Regions from separate parts of the Homo sapiens genome. Here region 1 is linked to region 2. Evidence: promoter capture Hi-C in 16 types of primary human blood cells and fetal thymus (Javierre and others, 2016). All regions are on one chromosome and are shown on one strand. Each heading gives the region's core, a stretch centred on a gene start or on the middle of the fragment in contact. The rest is flanking DNA. Distances are from core to core; before and after follow the strand shown.

Region 1 (4,653 bases), core at 1,944-4,443, 130 kb after region 2:
AAACCAATTAGGCTTTTACAATAGTTCAGGTAAGAGATGACAGTGACTTGGACTAGGGTGTAGTAGCTATGGAGATGGTTGAAAATGGCTAGATGTGGGATCTATTTTAAAGGTACCACCAACAGCATTTGCAGACTCAAGGATGATTTCAAAGTTTTGGGTCTGAGCAACTAGGTGAATGATAACATTGTTTACTGAGACGGGGAGGCCTTAAGTAGAAGGTTTAGGAGGGAAAATATAGATTTTGCTATGGACACATTATATTCTATACAGACATAATTTAAAATAGTTACCAGGTCCATCAATTGATGGATAAACTATGGTATATCCATACATTGGAATATTATTTGTTAATAAAAATAAATGGTCAGGCGCAGTACCTTAAGCCTGTAATCCCAGCACTTCAGGAGGCTGAGGCGGGTGGAGTGCAGTGGCACGATCTCAGCTCACTGCAACCTCTGCCTCCCAGGTTCAAGCCATTCTCCTGCCTCAGCCTCCGGAGTAGCTGGGATTACAGGCGCCCGCCACCACGTCCGGCTACTTTTTGTATTTTTAGTAGAGATGGGGTATCACCATATGGGCCAGGCTGGTCTTGAACTCCTGACCTTAGGCGATTCACCCGCCTCGGCCTCCCAAAGTGCTGGGATTACAGGCGTGAGCCACTGCACCTGACCACTATTCACTTTAAATGGGTATACTGTATGGTATGTGAATTATAATCGCAATGAATCTATTCTAAAAATATAGTTATTGAAAATATATAATTATAAAAAGCATTATGAAGCTATTCCCCCCCACACCAGAAGCTATTTTAATAAAAGATTTTAACCTACTAGAAATAAAAGGAAAATTAAGTAGTCAAGAGTTCTAATCCTTCTCTGTTAACCACAGGAAACCTGGCTGTTTGGACTGGGTGTCTGTGTCAACAGACCACCACCAACCTGGAACAGTATTTGCTAATAACAAGCAAAGTATTCCTGAGTAATAATAGCTTCTTGATTGTTGGACTCCCATAAAGCAGTCATTATTAAGCTTTTTAACTTTTTTTTTGTTGGGGTGGGGGTGGTGTGCGTAAAGTATTGCATTATGTTTACTTTAGTATATATTGCCACCAGTTTTTCCAAATCTGATCTTTGAGAATCTGGTATAAACTATGGTTCTTCTGTCCCCCAAATGTGCTTAAGCACAAATACATACATGCAATATTATACGTATTTTAGGATGTACATAGATCCCCTGAAACCAACCAATGCAGCTCAGTTTCTATAAAATTAAAGCAAGGTCACAGGAATTAACAGTGGCTTTTATTTATCCAGACTTCTGCTCAGCACAATCATATGCTCATAAATATATGACTTGACAGTTCCAAAGACCTGCAGTATGGCTGGTTGGGGTATAAATTGGTACAACATACTTTGGAAAGCTGGTGGCAATATATACTAAAGCTGTACATAATCCAAAACCCATGACCTTGCAATCCCTCTCCTAGGTATATATACCCGATTGAAATGCATTCTTTGCGATGCGGGTAAAGAGGGGATGGTTAATGGGTACACAAAATATAGAAAGAAAAGTAAGATCTAGTATTTGCTATCACAACAGGGTGACTATAGTAAAAAATAATTGTTCATTAAAAAATAACTAAAAGAGAGGCCAGGTGCGGTGGCTCATGCCTGTAATCCCAACACTTTGGGAGGCCGAGATGGGTGGATTGCCTAAGGTCAGGAGTTCGAGACCAGCCTGACAAACACGGTGAAACCCTGTCTCTATTAAAAATACAAAAACTAGCCAGGCATGGTGGCAGGTGCCTGTAATCCTAGCTACTCGGGATGCTGAGTGTGGAGAATCGCTTGAACCTGGGAGGCAGAGGTTGCAGTAAGCCAAGGTTGCGTCATTGCACTCCAGCCTGAGCAACAAGAGTGAAACTCCATCTCAAACAAACAAGCAAACTAAGAGTATAATTGGATTGTTGGAAACATAAAGGATAGATGTTTGAGGTGATGAATACTGTATTTACTCTGATGTAATTATTACACATTGCATGCCTATATCAAACATCTCATGTAACCCATAAATATATACACCCACTATGTATCCACAAAAATTAAAAAAGAGCCCGGGCATGGTGGCTCACATCTGTAATCCCAGCACTTTGGGAGGCCAAGGCGGGCGGATCACCTGGGGTCGGGAGTTCGAGACCAGCCCGACCAACACGGAGAAACCCTGTCTCTACTAAAAAATACAAAATTAGCCGGGCGTGGTGGCGCATGCCTCTAATCCCAGCTACCCGGGAGGCTGAGGCAGGAGAATCACTGGAACCTGGGAGGCGGAGGTTGTGGTGAGCTGAGATCGTGCCATGGCACTCCAGCCTGGGCAATAAGAGCAAAACTCCGTCTCAAAAAAAAAAAAAAATTAAAAAAGAAATGCATTCTTATGTTATACCAAAACACATATTCATAGTAGTTCTATTTATAGTTGCCCCAAACTAGGTCAATCAAATCTTCAAAAAAAGTAAAATAGTTAATTCATGGTCACAAAACATACATATTTCATAATTTCATTTGTATAAACCTCAAAAGCAAAACCAATCTATGGTATTTCAAGTCAAGATTGTGGTTACCTTTAAGGGAGAAAATAGCAACTGGGAAAAGGTATGAGGGGGGATTCTAGGGTGCTGGTAACGATCTGTTTCTTGATTTGGGTGCTGGCTATATATGTTCACTATTCATTTTTTAAAAATAGACACAGAGTCTCACTATGTTGCCCAGGCTGGTCTTAAACTCTTGGCCTCAAGCAGTCCTCCCACCTCGGCCTCCCAAAGTGCTTGGATTACGGGAGTGAGCCACCATTCCCAGCTAGCCACCTCATTTAAAATAGTATTACTTGGCCGGGTGCAGTGGCTGACGCCTGTAATTCCAGCACTTTGGGAGGCCGAGGCGGGTTGGGATCAAGCCAGCCTGGCGAACATGGTGAAACCTCAACTCTCCTAAAATTACAAAATTAGTAATCGAGACCATTCTGGGTAACATGGTGAAATCCCATCTCTACTAAAAATACAAAAAATTAGCTGGGCATGGTGGCGGGCGCCTGTAGTCCCAGCTACTCGGGAGGCTGAGGCAGGAGAATGGCGTGAACCCAGGAGGCGGAGCTTGCAGTGAGCTGAGATGGCGCCACTGCACTCCAGCCTGGGTGACAGAGTGAGACTCCGTCTCAAAAACAAAAAACAAAAAACAAAACAAACAAACAAAAAACAAAAAAAATTAGGCTGGGCGCAGTGGCTCATGCCTGTAATCCCAGCACTTTGGGAGGCTGATGTGGGCGGATCACCTGAGGTCAGGAGTTCAAGACCAGCCTTACCAACATGGAGAAACCCCGTCTCTACTAAAAATACAAAAAAAATTAGCCAGGCATGGTGGCATATGCCTGTAATCCCAGCTGTCAGGCCTCTGAGCCCAAACCAAGCCATCGCATCCCCTGTGACTTGCACGTATACACCCAGATGGCCTGAAGTAACTGAAGATCCACAAAAGAAGTAAAAATAGCCTTAACTGATGACATTCCACCATTGATTTGTTCCTGTCCCACCCTAACTGATCAATGTACTTTGTAATCTCCCCCACCCTTAAGAAAGTTCTTTGTAATTCTCCCCACCCTTGAGAATGTACTTTGTGAGATCCACCCCTGCCCGCAAAACATTGCTCTCAACTTCACCGCCTATCCCAAAACCTATAAGAATTAATGATAATCCATCTCCCTTCGCTGACTCTCTTTTCGGCACCCAGGTGAAATAAATACCCATGTTGCTCACACAAAGCCTGTTTGGTGGCCTCTTCACACGGACGCACATGAAACCAGCTACTTGGGAGGCTGAGGCAGGAGAATTGCTTGAACCCGGGAGGCGGAGGTTGCGGTGACCCGAGATCACGCCATTGCACTCCTGCCTGGGCAACAAGAGCAAAATTCCGTCTCAGGGAAAAAAAAAAAATTAGCTGGGTGTGGTGGGGCAGGCCTGTAATCCCAGCTACTCAGGAGGCTGAGGCAGGAGAATCACTTGAACCTGGGAGGCGGAGGTTGCAGAGTCGAGATCATGCCATTGCCCTCCAGCCTGGGCGACTGAGTGAGACTCCATCTTAAAAAAAAAAAAAAAAAAAGTCTTTTATTACTTTTTGAGCATTTAAAGAGTATTTTTTGGCCAGACGGTGTGGCTCACGCCTGTAATCCCAGTATTTTGGGAGGCCCAGGCGGGTGGATCACTTGAAGCCTCCAGCCTGGCCAACATGGCAGGAGAATGACTGGAACCCGGGAGGTGGATGTTGCAGTGAGCCAAGATGGTGTCACTGCACTCCAGCCTGGGTGACAGAGAGAGACTCTGTCTCAAAGACAAAAAGAAAATTTGTTCAGTATTTTCTTCAATCAGCTTTCTCAGACTGAATGTTCACCCTTTTAAATATTCATAATGTTCCTGAGAATCCATTTGGCTATTCTGTTTTCTTCACCCTTCTCCAGCCTTCCCCTCCTCAATTCGACCCATTTCTTCCCTACTTCCCAAAAGAAAAAATATCTACTTTGGATTAATATAAATCAGTTTAATCTAACTTATTCAAGACTTTTTTGGCCTCTACTTGGAGGTTCAAGAAAAGGTGTGTCAGGCCT
Region 2 (4,860 bases), core at 2,333-4,832:
TCTCCTGCCAGAGCTGAATATTTCTTAAAAACTGGAAGGTGATCTTGGGTACACAATTCGTGATACTTCCACCATTCCATCCACCCCCCCCTTTTTCCTTTCAAGGCAGGCGGGTGCCCTGGAGCGTCCAGTCCTCATTCACCGAGCAGTGCTCGGTTCTGTGGAAAGACTGTTGGGAGTGCTGGCAGAAAGCTGCGGGGGGAAATGGTGAGACCTCTGACCTGGATTTCTGTTCTGGCCCCAAACCGGATAGTTATGCTCCAGATCCTGTCCCCCTTCATATGCCAGCCTCTTTCCTTCTCAAGTCTGCTCCATACAAGCACACTTCTGGCCAGAGCCAGAGTGACTAATTTGCCATCACCTGTTCTTTCCCTACCAGGCCACTGTGGCTGTCCCCGTTCCAGGTGGTGGTCATCCCTGTGGGGAGTGAGCAAGAGGAATACGCCAAAGAGGTAAGGAGTTGAGGTAAGGGAGGGGGCAGAAGCAGGTCCAGTAGAGAGTCTGGTGCCCTGCAGTGGGCAGGAAGAGGCTGCAGGGGTGGTAGAGGAAGGAGCACAGCCCTCACAGCCACAAGACTGGGCTCGAGTGGCTGCTGTCCTAGATGCTGGAAATCCTGTATCTAAAAAATGTGACTAATGCCTACCTTGTAGAGATGTATGAAAATTAAACAAATTAACAAATGTTGAAAGCCACCAAAAGAGCACTTGGCACAAAACTGGGATTGAGTACACAGTTTTATTTTTCCTTTCTAGAGAGAATTGAGGATATGGATGGTACCAGAGTCAAACAGCTGGTTGGGTAGAGCAGTGGCTAGAAGGCAAAGTCCACGGAATAACTGGGGGGTCATCTCCAGTAGGAGGCAGAAAGATTGTGGGGTTGGGGATGAATGGGGAGGAGGCCTCAATGTGGAGATGAAATGAGGAGAGGTTGCTGGTAAGAAGTGGAGAGCCCCGAGGCAGGGAAAGGAGGAACAGATGGGGGCATTGAGGGAAAAGAGCATCAGACTGTTCTAGCTCCTTAACTTTCCAGTAAATTAACTTCCTGTCACCAAACCTCTGTTGCAGGCACAGCAGAGCCTGCGGGCTGCAGGACTGGTCAGTGACCTGGATGCAGACTCTGGACTGACCCTCAGCCGGAGAATCCGCCGGGCCCAGCTTGCCCACTACAATTTTCAGTTTGGTAAGCTGAACCTCAGAGCCAATGTTCTCCCACCTGCCGTCTGCATTCTTGCTGTTAAGTTTACCAAGTCTGGTAATGCATATTTGGGTTAATTGGGGCTCATTACCTGAGCAGGTAGGAGCCAGGATTCAGGACACCTGACTCATTTGGGCCCTGTGTTCCTTCACATTGCCCTGCCCTCCCCATAACCACTTCTGACACTCAAAATAGTTTTCCTCTTTTTAACTCCACTCTAGCTGTTGGTGTCTGTTAGGTTAATTAACCAAGGGAGCATCAGAGAGAAAGGGACGGGAGGGTTAATACAGCGTTAATTACCCTTGTTTATTTTAGACCTAGATGGAATCAGCCCTAAGGGATGAGGAGAAAGGCCTTAGGGAGAAAATTCTGGCACTGCCATGCTCCCTTTTTCATTTTCCAGGGTTCAGGGCTCTATCTCAAAGGTGAGGAGCAGAAACTCCTCAGCCAGATTACCTGATTCTTGAGTTTTGCACACCCCACTCTCCCTACAAGCACCCAGAGCAAGCTGTGCTGCAATCCCAGGGACTTGTACATGGCCCCTTTCCCTCCCTTACCGCCCAGTCAGCCCCTGCATACATCCTCCTCAGCAGAGGCCCCTCACTCTGTGAATCCAGCCCTAACAGACACCAAGAGCCAGAGTGGGACTGATGAGAGGAAACTGTTCTAAGGGTCAGAGTGGTTGGGGGGAGGCGGGGCAGTGTGAAGGCCACACCACTCCTGCCACCTTCCACTTGCTCTAATACCCCCTTCAGACACGCGCGCGCACACACACACACACACACACACACACACAGTTTCTCTCTGTGGGGTTCTCATTGTTTGTCTTTCTCTGCTTGACTCTAATGTCTCTGACACACACACACACACACACACACACACACACAGTTTCTCTCTGTGGGGTTCTCAGTGTTTGTCTTTCTCTGCTTGACTCTTATGTCTCTGACCCTGGGGCTCTTGACCAGAAGCGATAAGGCCTGCGGGGACTGAAGCACTTCCTTGTCTCCTCAGGATGAGCAGGACTGGTCATTTAGTATTAGCAGACACAGCTGAATACTTCCTTTCTGTGAACCATATCTGGGCTCTGCTCCCACCCTTCCTAAAGATTTAGGTCTCTCAAGTTTCTGCAGAGCAAAAGAAACTGTTCCATGTGGGTGAATTTGCCCTGAGGTTCCCAAACTTCCTCTACCTGCAGTGGTTGGCCAGAAAGAGCAAAGTAAGAGAACAGTGAACATTCGGACTCGAGATAATCGTCGCCTTGGGGAGTGGGACTTGCCTGAGGCTGTGCAGCGACTGGTGGAGCTACAGAACACGAGGGTCCCAAATGCCGAAGAAATTTTCTGAGCCTTTGTACATAGATGAGGCAAAAACCTGCGAGTGCCATCAGCCTCCCTCACATGGGAGACCCCAACCCAGCTGACAATGTGGAGCCCCCAGAACTTCAGAACTGTGTGGAGGCACATGTCTGCTCTCCTGAAAAGAGACTTGGTTTGGGGACCCCACAAAAGGAGGGAAGCTGTAGCTGTTTGGATGTGAGGAGAATGAAACTACAAAAAAAAATAAATTGGGCCAGGCGCAGTGGCTCATGCCTGTAATCCCAGCACTCTGGGAGGCTGAGGCGGACGGATCATGAGGTCAGGAGATCAAGACCACCCTGGCTAACACGGTGAAACCCTGTCTCTACTAAAAATACAAAAAATTAGCCGGGCATGGTGGCACACGCCTGTAATCCCAGCTACTCAGGAGGCTGAGGCAGGAGAATCGCTTGAACCCGGGAGGTAGAGGTTGCAGTGAGCTGAGATTGCGCCACTGCACCCCCCTAGGCGACAGAGCGAGACTCTGTCTCTAAATAAATAAATAAATAAATAAATACAAACTGGAAGCTGCTGGTCATATGTCTTCATCTCTGACTCTGGAGAGGTGGGATAAAAGGATGTTCCACTTTGTCTCCCTCTTTTTTGTCCCAGAGAGTTAGGGAAATTGAAAAGGGACAGTCCAGACCTCACACTGGTAGGGGAGATCCCTTGGATAGGTTTCCTGCTCCCCGCTGTAAACTCCTTTGTGCCCTGTTTCCCCAACCCCAGTTCATGAGTTGGCAGATCCCCTCTCCACAGAAGGCAGCCTGTAGATGGAGAAACTGAGGCACAAACTAGGGGCTCAAACACCTCTTGCTCCTGGATTCTCTGAATCAGTTTCTCTTGAAGGTCATAAGAATGTTCTCCTCTAATCAGTCCCATTCTTCTCAATCCTCTGAGGAGGCTTCAGGGTGACTTTGGGAGGAGTGGCTTCCAGAGGAGGAGCAGCTGGGACTGAGTCATGGCAGGAAGCTGAGGAGGGCGGGAGATCACACCAGACAATTATAAAAGAAGAGCTGGTCCTGAAGCTCACAACCGTAACAGCCACCAGACAAGCTTCAGTGGCCGGCCCTTCACATCCAGACTTGCCTGAGAGGACCCACCTCTGAGTGTCCAGTGGTCAGTTGCCCCAGGATGGGGACCACAGCCAGAGCAGCCTTGGTCTTGACCTATTTGGCTGTTGCTTCTGCTGCCTCTGAGGGAGGTGAGTTGGGGGATCAGCACTTAGGAGGGGGTCTGGGCTTGCATGGCAGGGGTCTGGGTCCAGGCATCCCAGACGGCTCATCACTAGCAGAGTGATTCTCCGTTTGGCTTTCCTTTTCTGAGCAGGCCCAAAGTGGGCCTAGGCCAGTGGAGCCTTTAACCAAGGAGGCAGAGAGCAGGGGCACAGAAGGAGAGGGGTTCCTAGAAACTGCTGCCAAGAAACACAGAATCCCAGTCAAATAGACAACTGAGTGGGGGGTGGGTTCACAGAGTGAGGGTCTCCTGCTGATGAGGATGTAGGGAGGTGGCTGGTGGGAGAGGCAAGGGAGGGAAAAGGGGCCCCCAGGCTGCTCAAAACCGGATTGCTGGCCCAGCAAGCCTCGACTGACTCCCTGTCTGATTAGAGGAGTTGAGGGGTGTCCATCCACAGACCCACCCTCCATCCAGCACAAACACATTCTTTATCTGCTTTGATGCCTGAACAAAACAGGAACCCCTCAATGCTATGGGTGGAAACTAAGAAAAAAAGGAAAAGAAAAGGAAAAAAACCACCCAGGGCACTCCTGCAGGAAGCTGCTGAGGATGTCAGCAAATCTGTCCACTTCTCTGTGAAGCCCCATGCCATCATTCTTCCCAGCTCCTGGTCTTTTGTGTCTGCAGATCACCTACAAGTGACCCTTCCCTGTGCCTGTCCCAGTCCCCCAGGCCCTAAATTGAGACCTAAACTAAGGCGGAGCTGAGACTGGCTGAAGGGGAAGCACTCAACCTTCAGGAAGCCTCCTTAACCAAAGGCCTAAAGATGTTTCAAGGGCCTGGAGTAGGAGGGTGGGTGGAGGAGGTGGATTGGGTAGGCTCCAACCAGCTCAAGGTCCAGACTTTTTCCTCTGAAAGCTAGAGACGCATCCCAGCAGAGACTGGGGAGGACAACCCACAGCCCTGAGGGAAAGACTGGCAGAGGAAATGAGGGCCTCCCTCCCCAATCCCGTATGCCATACTCCCTTTAGGCCCAACCTCTGAGCCAGTAGAGGTGGAGCTATCAGACCGCCACAGGCTTTCTCAGAACCCAGCTGGTCATGTCTAGGTGTGTTGGGGCTGGGAGAGGATTAGG

What was found. Contacts are between HindIII fragments. The CHiCAGO score rates a contact against its expected background, and 5 or more counts as called.
Region 1: a fragment that was not itself captured here is called in contact with the fragment with the promoter of ECM1 in region 2 in 1 of 17 cell types (neutrophils); the score reaches 7.5 in neutrophils.

Annotation. Positions count from the first base shown.
Region 1 is chr1:150,636,733-150,641,385 of GRCh38, forward strand. No RefSeq gene overlaps it. Among named protein-coding and RNA genes, the nearest start is that of ENSA, 9.4 kb to the left of the region's middle. RefSeq lists enhancers at 1-159, 1,304-1,920, 4,385-4,653. The HindIII fragment of the contact is 4,327 bases long and covers 1,031-4,653 here.
Region 2 is chr1:150,504,527-150,509,386 of GRCh38, forward strand. ECM1 (extracellular matrix protein 1) reads left to right here and starts at 3,583. Exons shown (of 10, transcript NM_004425.4): 1 at 3,583-3,753. The coding sequence starts at 3,684. TARS2 (threonyl-tRNA synthetase 2, mitochondrial) reads left to right here. Exons shown (of 18, transcript NM_025150.5): 15 at 106-207; 16 at 380-452; 17 at 1,065-1,179; 18 at 2,390-3,076. The coding sequence ends at 2,538. The HindIII fragment of the contact is 8,833 bases long and covers 1-3,603 here.